Regions from separate parts of the Homo sapiens genome. Here region 2 is linked to region 1. The links are contacts of gene promoters, found by promoter capture Hi-C in blood cells and fetal thymus (Javierre and others, 2016). All regions are on one chromosome and are shown on one strand. The core of a region is centred on a gene start or on the middle of the fragment in contact, and the rest is flanking DNA. Distances in the headings are between cores, read along the strand shown. Region 1 holds the start of DDX47 (DEAD-box helicase 47). Region 2 overlaps LINC01252 (long intergenic non-protein coding RNA 1252).

Region 1 (6,115 bases), core at 2,603-5,102:
TAACTTTGCAGAAACTGAAAACGTCAGTAGTCCCAAATTCAAATTTAGAAGTTATTTTCACCGAATAACAACAGCAACAAAAACAAACAGATTATTTGAATCATTTCTATAGATTCAAATGAAGCATTTATAAACTATTCATTAGAATGAGACAAACCCAAGAATAAGGATAAAGACATTTCTATGGTGATCATTTCTGTCAGTTCCTAGTAATCTTCCACTGACCCCTCCCTATTCTTTTCTGCATCAAATTTAAACTTATGGCTGAAAACATCAGAATAATTTTAGGATTACTGCCAGCTATTTTGACTCCTTCTCACCTACACTGTAGGGCAAGCTGGAAAAGTTAAAATGCATGAACGCTTCTTGCTATTTAAAAGTAACACTGGGCCGCTGATAGTTCTTTCCCACCACTGGCCTTTATACGGTCCTTATCCTCCAAACTTCTCTGCACAAGTTTGAAGTGTTTACTAATCCCTCCTTGAAACAGTTTCCCTTCCCTAATTTGTGTGAAACTATACTCTCATGATTTTCAACCCTCTATTGAATCTTCCAATTTTCCTCTGTCATCTTTGCCAATCTAATCCATTTCCAATCTCAGCTATAACCGCTCTTTGGATACAGTGTGTATATCCAGCTCTGGCCTCTCAATCAAGTTCCAATCCCAGGATTCCAACTGGGTATTTTTTTCCTTTTTTATTGTCCCCCAGTTTTGTTAATTGACAAAAAATTATACTTATGGTATACAATGCAAAGTTTAGATACATGTATACTTTGTGAAGTGATTAAATCAAGCTCATTAACATATCTGTCACCTCACATACTTGTCATTTTTGTGGGGAGACCATTTAAGATCCACTCTCCTAGCAATTTTCAAATACACAAAACATTATTCACTGTAGTCACCATGCTATTCAATAGATCTTCAGAACTTATCCATCCTGGCTAACTGAAACCGTACCCTGAGCAACATTTCCCCATTCCCCTCCCACAAGGTCAACTCTATCTCATTGATATCCAAAATCAATTACTTCCAACTGAACTCATCTTTCCTGCATTTTTCCCCCGTTCCTTTTTTGTATCAGTGGTACACCAATAATATGCCCTAAACATACAGCCTAGAAACTTAGATTTTCCCCACCCCTTCCTTGCCTTCCACTTGCTTAACTGGTTGTAAAATCATAATGATTCTTTTTCCAACATTTTCTTTTTCATTCTACCACCACCCTACCCATTATTGATTGCAAAAATCATTACAAAGACCTACTAATTGGTTTCCCAGACTCAGTCTCTTGTTTCTAATGATCTTTCACAGCTATGAGATTAATCTTCCAAGAGTACAACTCTAAATCCTTCATCTCCAAAAATGCCCCACTGCCTATGAAACGAAGACCAAATTCCTTGACCCAGCACTCAAATCCTTCATAATCCGGCCCCAATCACCTTACTAAACTTTTTCACCACTCTGCTAAGTACTTGCAAATCTCCATACATGCCCATGTTTTCCAGTTGGCTTTTTTTCATGCTGTTCCCTATGCCTAGAAAGTCCTCCCCTCCCATCATATCTGAATGTCTAAATCCTTCTAAAGTCAGTGTTCAAGGTTCAGCTCACATGTCTTCCCAACCTCCCCAGCCAAAAATAAAATGAAATAAATCTTCTCTAATCCATCCTAATTAGAAGTAATCTCTTCTCCCTCAGTGCACTCTGAATGTAACTTTCTTAGGTCCCTGTTCAACTTGTAATAAATTTATAATTATCTCTTTAATAGATTATAGACTCTTGGAGAGGACAGACTGTTAACCTCCAGTGCCTTACATTTACAACAAATAGTAACTATTTATGGAAAGAGCAAATGGAATTTTGTAGAGTAAGTCTAACCCCTTTTCCACATGACAGCTCTTCAAATCATTAAATCTTTCAATTATTATCAATAATAATCACTACATTAATTACTAATGAGTAATAATTATAGCTTACATTAATCACTAATAATATAGTAATACAGTAATAGCTACATTAATACTAACAATAATTAGCCACATTACCCCTCTTATAACAATTGCTATGATTACATTCACTCTCTCTGAGGATCTTAATAGATTTCAGTTAACTAAGACCTCTGGGCCTCTTTTATCACCCACCCTAATCCTGTAAAGTTGGTACTTTAGGAATCTAAGAGCAGGACTTTACTTCTACTCCTATTAAAGTTCATCCTGTTACAGCCAGATGTGGTGGCTCACACCTGTAATCCCAGCACTTTGGGAGGCCAAGGCAGGTAGATCACTTGAGGTCAGGAGTTCGAGACCAGCCTGGCCAACATGCTGAAACCCCATCTCTACTAAAAATACAAAATTAGCCGGACATGGTGATGCGCCTGTAATCCATTACTTGGGAGGCTGAGGCGGGAGAGTTGCTTGAACCTGGAAGGCAGAGGTTGCAGTGAGCCAAGACCGCACCACTGCACTCCAGCCTGGGCGACAGAGCGAAACTCTATCTCAAAAAAAACTCCATCTTAAAAAAAAGATCTCAAAAAGAAAAAAGTTCATCCCATTAGTTTCAGTTCCAGTAGCCATCAATCTGCTTTAACCACTGTTTTACAAATCTGATAAACATGGCTCACAGCAAGAATTCTCAACTCCTCAAGACACACATATGTGTTCCAGGCATCCTTCCCTAAGTGTGCGCCCACTGATGCATAAAGTCTACCAAGATTGTCGTTAATATACTTTAACTTTAACCTAGGGCTTCCTTAAAGTCAGCATCTGTGGCAGAGAACAAACCCTTTCAGCTATTAAGACAGAAAGTAAGCTCAGTAAAATTGGAGAATGACATTTTCAAATACCATTACCCAAACTTTGTACCTTTAGTGACCATATCCTTATTTCACTTGAAGTATGCAAGCAACAGCTTTCAAAAGGGGTATCTAATTGAGATAACTTTATATTAAATCTGTACGAAGTCATACAACCTACCTTGTAAGGCCAAAGGAATAGCTTCAATCTGGATCTTGGTGGGTTTTGTCCATCCCAACTGGTCACAAGCTTCACACAACACATCTGTCACACCCTTGGAATTCAGAAAAATATACCTTAGCCAAGAACAGCACACCCCTACCTCCCTCCTACTTAACTGACTGTCAGACCCATCATGTACAACCATTGTATTTGATTTAAAAGGTATTTACTGTGCATCTCAGAGCCTACTCTTTAACTATACCATGAGACAGTAGCTCAAGACTTAACGAACACTTTCTGCTCACCAAGGCCAAGGCCAGGTGCTTTACATGTATCATCTCATTTAATCGTCACAACAATTCTGCGAGGTAAGTACTTATTACTATCCCCAATTTACAGATGTGGAAAGAGAAACACAGAGAGGTAACAACTTGTCCTCAGTAAGAGACTGTGTCAAAATTCAAATCTGGTTGGTTCATCTGACTCCAAAGCTCCAGTTATAAAGAGACCAATTCCATTCCCCATATGTACAACCTCCTGGATGCACATACAAACGTTGCCACACTAAAGTGGCGAATAGGGCAAATAGGGGGTCTCAGGGCCCAGCAGCCCTCCCACCACCCAAACTCAGAGCACGTCCGAAACCCAGCCCTCTGAAATTCTGGGGAAAACCCAAGCTAGGCCCCAAGATGCTTTTGTACACTATCAGAGCGGGATCTAAGGTACCTGGGGTCTCCCTGAGCCTAGCACCAGAGTACATAAAAGAAGCCAGCGTCATCCATTCTCACCAGGTCTTTAAATGTTTTAGTTTCCTCCTCTTCCACAATCGGCTGGGACGCTTCGGTCGGAGAATCGTGTTCCTCGGGTGCCGCCATCTTGTGTGAGGTCTCCGGAAGTGGGTCTGCGGCGCGCGGGATGCTGGGAAATGTAGTTTTAGTTCTCCCCGGACGACGTGCTCTGCGCGCCCCCTGCGGGCTTGCCGGGGATTGCACCCGTCCGCTAGGCAGGTGGGGCCCAGTGAATATGGGCGCGTAGGCTTGCGGAATAGATCCGAGTGCAGAAGGGGCTGATCACCAGGGACTCCAGTTGACCTTTAGGTCCCTTTTAAAGAGCCTTCCCTACGTGTGTCGCCAGTTATGTTCCCCGCTTTTCTAACCATAGAGTTTGGAACGGATTGATATTACAATACTATTTTTTTATTATGTCATTACTTTATTCAATAATGTTGAGAACCTACCATTTGCTAAGGCTATGCTAGATGGCTGGTGAATAGGACAGCGACCCCTGCCCTCGTGAAGAAAAAGAAGACAGATCATAAATAAGCTATCACAGAGCATTTCAAATTGTGAAAAGTAGCTGGGTGTGCTCACGCCTGTAACCCCAGCACTGTGGGAGGACGAGGCGGGCGGATCACTTGAGCCCAGGAGTTCGAGACCAGCCTGGGCAACGTGGCGAAACCCTGTGTCTGCAAAATGCAAAAATCAGTCAGGCATGCATGGTGGCATGCGCCTGTAATCCCAGCTATTCAGGGGGCTGAGGTTGAGGGATCAGTTGACCCCGGAAGTTGAGGCTGCAGTGAGTGGAGATGGTGCTACTGTACTCCAGCCTGGGCAACAGAGTGAAACCCTGTTCACATAAAAATTACAGAGTAACCTGGGGAGGGTGGGTTGTGGGGATAACTGTGAGATTGGGAAGGCCTCTCTGAGACAGTGATATTTGAGTTAAGACCTCACTGTTGAGCAGGAGAAAACGCTTTAAGATCCCAGGAGATAATCATTCCAGAGTGAGAGAATTCCAAGTACCAAGACTGTGAAGCTACTAAGGCTATTCTGGAAAGCAGCAAATTCAGAGCTGTATGTTGCATGCCCCATGGCCAGCGAGTGCCCTCCTGTGGCCTGTCACTTGGGTCTCACACTGCGCAGGGTGCTCGTTGCAGTTTTATTCCTGAGGATGGGAAGTTGGGGGCAATCTGGTGTCCGTCACTGGGAAAATGCATAGTTAAAATGTGAACATGGTGTCTACAAACATGCCCTTAACAATATGATTAGATCTGAAAAACCTAGTGCTTAGTGAGAAAAGCATAAAATATATCAAGTATATTAAAATATAGGCCCACAGATATCACATTCTGCTAAAACACATCCAACAGAAGATACACTTGAAATATTTTAGAATGGTTGCCTGCAGAGGGAGAAGAATTAGAATAAAACTGGGAATTGGGAATAAAAGAATTAAGTGTATAAGACAATAGGCCGGCCGCGGTGGCTCACACCTGTATCTTAGCACTTTGGGAGGCCAAGGCAGATGGATCACTTGAAGTCAAGAGTTCGAGACCAGCCTGGTCAACATAGTGAAATCCAGTCTCTACTAAAAACACAAAAATTAGCCAGGCATGGTGGCCTGTGCCTGTAATCCCAGCTACTCGGGGGGCTGGGGCAGGAGAATTGCTTGAACCCCGGAGGCGGAGGTTGCAGTGAGCTGAGATCATGCCATTGCACTCCAGCCTGAGTGACAGCGCAAGACTCCGTCTCAAAAAAAAAAAAAAAAGGATAATAAATACACAAAGCAAGAGAGGAGACTTGTGATGCCAGTGTGCTTGACCTGAGAATTGTGAGGAACTCAACTCAATGTGCCTGCCGACCTCCCCACCACCACAACTAAAAAAGGGCCCTGATTTAGGCATCACAGCAGTGTCTCAACAACAAAAAGGGTAGGATGTGGTCAGAGAATTGGGCTCAGCTCAGACTCTGCAGGACCCTGTTGTAAAAGGTCTGGGGTTTTGGATGTTATCCTAAATGCAGAAGGAAGCCACTGGGGGTTTAGAGCAGGGAAGAGACATGATCTACACATTTAAAATATTACTCTAACTCTATATGGAGATAGGCTGTAGAAAGAGTGAGAAAAGGAGACCATCTAAGACAGCGGTCCCCAACCTTTTTGGCACTAAGGACTGGTTTCGTGGAAGACATTTTTTGCACAGAATTGGGGCGGGGATGGTTTCAGGATGATTCAAGCACATTACATTTATTGTGCAGTTTATTTCTATTATTATTACATTGTAATATATAATGAAATAATTGTACAACTTGCCATAATGTGGAATCAGTGATAGCCCTGAGCTTGTTCTCCTGCAACTAGATGGTTCCATGTGGGGGTAATG
Region 2 (6,115 bases), core at 1,219-3,718, 1.3 Mb after region 1:
TGGCAAGAACTGTACTTGAAATCAGGAGACCTGGGAAGGCTGAGGAGGGAGGGTTGCTTGAGCTCAGGAGTTCGAGGCTGCAGTAAGCTATGATCACGCTACTGCACTCTAGCCGTTGACAGGCGACAAAGCGAGATCTGTCTCTAAAAAATAAAATAAAGTAAAATAAATCAAGAGCTCCAGATTTTGAATTCTGTCTTTGCCATCTGTATTATTAGTACCAGTTACTTAACATCTCTAAGATTGTTCCATCATCTATAACATAACATTAAAAATGACTATTGACAAAGATGTTTGAGAAATAAAGGAATTAAAATTGCTGCAAAACACCATTTTCTCAGTGTTTGTTGGATCTGGATAATGTTGTGATATATGAATTGCATCAGAGTGTTGTCATCATTCATCATCATCATCATCATCCATCATTTCTAAAGTATCTAGATTTGTTCTAGAAAATGTAGCATGCTTCCCAAAGACAGAGTTTCTGACAACTAAGGGTTGGCAGTGGAAGGGAATATCCCACAGAGGTGCTGAAGTCAGTTTGCAAAGAGTTTCGAAATATTCAGCAGGAAACTTAACTGGTAAAAGAAAAGGATTATTCAGGGAGCACCCAGCATGCCACTCATTCTATGTGTGACTTGTATACACTTATTGAAGAATCAGTTATACTGCAGGGTTTGATGTGTTCAATAAATGTTAACATAATTTGTTAACATATAAAAATGGCACAAAGCGATCGTTTTTCTACCTACTTACCGCTTGAGAGGTTTTTTCCTTCTCATCCATTTTGACCAATTTCATAGAAATTTTATTTTCAAATTCTAAAAAGCTATTTCTCTCCATATCCTTGAATGCCTCTGACAGAAGCGACTGGAATCCCCTTTCTCTCAGAACAACGTTCATTAAACATATTTGGTTAAAAATACGTGGAACTCTAATAAGTTTTACTTTAGATAACACAGAAAATCACACAGGGTCTGCATACTTCATGCTAAAGAGCCTTGGGGTTTAGTGAAGAGGAGAACAGAAAATGTCTCTGACTTTGGCTTTGGTCTGATTTCCTCTGATCACTAATTTCCTAGCCCACATGTCTAGGCTAGGACACCATTGTCTGAGAGAGACAACTTCTCTTGTTGTTGTTCCTACAGACTATCCTTGTTGCACGAAGCACAGGATAATCTGTCACCCTGGCTTTTTGGCTTCCTGCTTCAGCACCACCTCTCCTTGAAATGCTCATGTATGGATATGGGTTCACGGGTTCCATCTAGCGGCCACTACTCAAATAATTTGAAAGTCAAGAACATTTCATAGATGACATTGACCTCACCTTTGCTTTGACGTACGGGGAAATTTAGATCTCAAGAGGTGAAATGAAGCATCGTAGGCACATGGCTAGTTAGTGGTAGAACTGGGGCCATCACCAGCCTCCTGACTCCAGCCCAGTTTCTCAGCCACAACAAGGTTTTTTTTTTTTTTTTTCCACAACCTTGATATTCTTCCTCCTACAAAATACTTAACTCTCCAGAGACTTAAACATCTTGATTCAACTCTGATACAAAAATAAGCAGAAAACATAACAACTGAAATGATAACTATAGCAATAAAAATATTATAGATTTCCATCGTATGTACTGTAACAATAAGATTCAAATGAATGAAAGATATAGCAGATTTCAGTATGGGGGAGTTAATGGAGGAAGATGGAACTCCATTACCTTCTTGAATGTGAAAGAGTAGATAAATTGGAGGAAGCTCCTAGGGGAGGGCATTTCAGGAACATGGAAAAGCATGAAAAAAATGTCTTCATGTGATGAAGAGGTTGGTTGTATTCCCTAGGCAAATATTAGGAATTAAAAAACAATTATTTCATGTTATTTAACCTATTAATAGATTTTTAAAGTGTACAACATAGTAAATTTCGACCTATTTTACACCAAAGAGGCAACTGACACAATCAAGATAATGAACATGGCTGGGCAAGGTGGCTCACGCCTGTAATCCCAGTGCTTTGGGAGTCATAAGTGGGAGGATTTCCTTGAGACCAGGAGTTCAAGACCAGCCCCAGGCAACATAGTGAGACCTCATCTCCACCAAAAGAAAAAAAACAGCCAGGCATGGTGGGCTGAGCCTGTAGTCCCAGTTGCTTGGCAGGAAGATCCCGTGGGCCCTGGAGTTTGAGGATGCAGTGAGCTATGAGCTGGGTGACAGAGCATGACCCTGTCTCTAAAAAAGCAAAAAAAAAAAAAGGATATTCATATCCTCCCCACCAAGTTTCCTTGTTGTGCCCCCTTCGTAATCCTGACTCCTCTCTCCTCTGGCCCATCCCACTCAGACAACCAGTGACCTGCTTTCCGTCACTTTGGATGAGTTTGCATTTTCTAGGATACTTGTACATTTTTTTCATTTTGAAACAATTTCAAACTTATGGAAAAGTTGCAGGTGTAGTAGCACAAGAGCTTCCGTACACCTTTCATCCGGATTCCCCAGTTGTTAACATTTTACCATGTTTGTCTTCTTATTCTATCTACACATTTATACGTATTATTGCTCTTAAATTTTTCTGAACCAGGTGAGAACAGTTGCAAATATGATGCCCCATGAGCCTTTACTACTTTGGCATGTATTTCCTTAAAATGAGGACATTTCTATAACCAGAGTGCATCCATCAAGATCGGGACATTACATGGGGTGCGGTGGCACATGCCTGTAATTCCAGGTACTTGAGAGGCTGAGACAGGAGAATCGCTTGAACCCAGGAGGTGGAGGTTGCAGTGAGCCGGGATTGTACCACTGCACTCCAGTCTGGATGACAGGGACTCTGTTTCAAAAAAAAAAAAAAAAAAAAAAAAAAAGAGAAAGGAAAAAGAAATGAAAAAGATCAGGAATTTAACATTGATGTAATAAAGCCACAATCCGTAGACTCCATTCAGATTTCACCAATTTTACAATAACGTTCTTTATAATTCCAGAATCCAACCCAGGATCATGTGTTGTGTTTAGTCATTATATCTCTGTTAGTCTCCCTTAATCAGGAACATTTTCTCATTCTTTCCTTGTTTTTCATAACCTGGGTGTTTTTAAAGAGAACAGGCTAATTACTTCGTAGAATGTCCCTCAGTTTGGGTTTGTCTGATGTTACCTTATTGTCAGATTTGGGTGGTGCGTTTTTGGCAGGACGTTCACAGAAATGATGCTGTGTTTTCTCAGTTTGTTAGAGTAACTTAATATAGATTTATCCTGTTTATAGACAACATTATATGTTAGCACTCGATTAAGATGATATTGGCTAGGTTTCTATGCTATAGAGCTAACTAGTAAGTAATTTGTATTTCTAAACTACTAATAAGCACTAAATATTTTGGGGGAGATACTTTGAGATTGTATCCATTTCCTCATCAAATTTTCACCTACTAGCTTTTCCATCCAATGATGATTCTATCTAAATTAGTTATAACTATAATGGTTGCAAAATAATAATTTTCTGGCTGGGTGTGGTGGCTCATGCCTATTATCCCAGCACTTTGGGAGGCTGAGGTGGATTGTTTGAGCCCAGGAGTTGAGACCAGCCTGGGCAACATGATGAAACCTCATTTCTACAAAAAATACAAAAATAGCCGTGTGGTGGCACACGCCTGAAGTCCCAGCTACTTGGGAGGCTGAGGTGGGAGAATTGCTTGAGCCCAGCAGGTTGAGGCTGCAGTGAACTGTGACTGCACCACTGCACTCCAACCTGGGTGACAGAGCAAGACCCTGTCTCAAAATAATAACAATTTTCTAATTCCATAATTATATTTACATTGATTAGTTGGCATTTACTATAAGTTAGAGCTCTCTCTTCTCTCTCATATTTATTCATTCATGTATTATATAAGTATGGATTCATGAGATTTGATTTTTCAATGAATTATAATCAGTTACTATCATTTTTTATTTTGATCCACAAAATGACCTAGATGTGGACAACTGGAGCCCCATGAAGTTGGCTCCTGTGTTTATTTATTTATTTATTTATTTTGAGAGGAAGTCTCACTCTATTGCCCAGGCTGGAGCACAATGGTGTGATCTCGGCTCACTGCAAGCTCCACCTCCTGGGTTCACGCTATTGTCCTGTCTCAGCCTCCCGAGTAGCTGGGACTACAGGCGCCCGCCACCACACCTGGCTAATTTTTTTGTATTGTCAGTAGAGATGGGACTTCACCGTGTTACCCAGGATGGTCTGGATCTCCTGACCTTGTGATCCACCCGCCTTGGCCTCCCAAAGTGCTGGGATTACAGGCGTGAGCCACTCCTGTGTCCTTTAGACATGTCCTCATAATTATCTGAGGGCTTCCTTACTTTCAGTACAATAGAGTTCCAGGGTCATCTTGTTCTTTCCCTGCCCCAGCCCTGGTTCCTTTTAGTGGAAAAAGGTATTTAGAAACTGAGATCTAAATGCTAGGATGCTCATTGCAACTGGGGTGTCATTGCTCCTGGACTAGGAAATATAACACATTCATACATTTCTACTTCTCAATTTACCTGTCTATCCCTACCTATCTATCATCTGTCACATTCCTATCTTTAAAATCCATAACTTCGGACTAATGCCTTCAATTCCAATCCAGTATCACATTTTCCCCTTTGCATATTTGTAACTCCTTTCTTCAACAGTGAGAAATTGCATTCCCAGTCTCCTTGATACGTTGACTCATTCACTTGATCCTCCTGCATGTAAGCAATCTCCCAGCTGGGCCAGCCTTGTCCCCTTAGCCCCAGTGCCACCCATCACACCATTTGAGTGTTCCAACTCCAAAAGAAGGGAAGGCGAAATAGGAAATTATTTTTGCTCTTCTCTTCCCTATTCCTTATGTGTATATTATTATTTTCCCTTTTGGATATTGCTCACATCCATTTTCTCCTCTTCAGCTTTACTTCTGTGACTAGAATTCAGGCTTGAACAGGTGCTTCTGGTTTTGTTCCTGGTAATCTGTCCTGCACATAGCAGCCCAGATGATCTTTCACAACAAGAATATGACTATGTTATTTCTCTTTAAAGTCTCCAATGGCTCGTCATTTTCTACAAGGTTAAGTAAGCTCTCTAACTTACCCTGACCTGGCCTCTGTCCATACCTCCATTCTCATATTCATGCCTTCCTCCCTTGGACTATCAGTAGAAGTGAATTTTTGTAGTTGTCTGCATATACCATGTTCCATCACTACCATTTCAGTATGATGCTCCCTTGATTTATGAACCTCTTTCCCCAGTGCACCCTTAGAAATCCTGCTCAGGTGTCACTGTATCTAAGAAGCTTTTTTTGACACTTCTTTCCAACCATTAGTTGTTAATTATCCATACTAATTGGATTTCTTATACATAGTTTTATTATTGCCTATGTCACTCTCCACTATATTTGTTTACATGTCTGTCTTCTCTACTAGGTAACCAATTCAGAGGACAGGAATTGATTTTTGCCATTATAGTTTCAGTATCTAGCACAGTTTCTGCCATGTGTTATACACTTAATAAATACTTATTGAGGCTGGGCGCGGTGGCTCACGCCTGTAATCCCAGCACTTTGGGAGGCCGAGGTGGGTGGATCATGAGGTCAGGAGTTCGAGACCAGCCTGACGAACAATGGTGAAACCCTGTCTCTACTAAGAAAAATACAAAAATTAGCTGGGCATGGTGGCACTCACCTGTAATCCCAGCTGCTCAGGAGGCTGAAGCAGGAGAATCGCTTGAACCCGGGAGGCGGAGGTGCAGTGAGCCCAGGTGGAGTGATGATCGCGCCTCATCACTCCAGCCTGGGCGACAGAGCAAGACTCTGTCTGAAACAAAACAAAACAAAACACAACAAAAACTTATTGAACTGAAACATATATGTATGTGTCTGTGTGTATTTCTTTTTCTTTTCTTTTTGCCTTGGAAGAATGTGGAGAAACATCTGAAAAAGGAGCTGTTTTAAGATACCCAGTTTGTGATCATTTATTATGGCAGCCAAAGCAAATAAATACAGCATCAAGCTTATCAGAATCCACTTGCATCATGCTTGCTAATATCCCCATTGTCAAAGCTAGTCACAAGGCTAAGCCTGCTGTCACCATGAGAGGGGACTATACAAGGGCGTGCATTCTG

What was found. The method cuts DNA at HindIII sites, captures the fragments that hold promoters and counts their contacts. A CHiCAGO score of 5 or more calls a contact.
Region 2: a contact is called between a fragment that was not itself captured here and the fragment with the promoter of DDX47 in region 1, in 1 of 17 cell types (non-activated CD4 T cells). The highest score is 5.9, in non-activated CD4 T cells.

The regions. Positions count from the first base shown.
Region 1 is chr12:12,811,083-12,817,197 of GRCh38, reverse strand. It overlaps DDX47 (DEAD-box helicase 47), which reads right to left and starts at 3,852. Exons shown (of 12, transcript NM_016355.4): 1 at 3,744-3,852; 2 at 2,974-3,067. The coding sequence starts at 3,830. RefSeq lists an enhancer at 3,716-4,025. The HindIII fragment of the contact is 15,992 bases long and covers 3,045-6,115 here.
Region 2 is chr12:11,549,283-11,555,397 of GRCh38, reverse strand. It overlaps LINC01252 (long intergenic non-protein coding RNA 1252), which reads right to left. Exons shown (of 8, transcript NR_033890.1): 2 at 5,677-5,808; 3 at 2,705-2,818; 4 at 1,716-1,832; 5 at 1,328-1,549; 6 at 1-143. All of the region lies in intron 2 of LOC124902877 (a long non-coding RNA gene), which reads left to right. Among named protein-coding and RNA genes, the nearest start is that of LINC01252, 4.3 kb to the right of the region's middle. The HindIII fragment of the contact is 5,644 bases long and covers 1-5,290 here.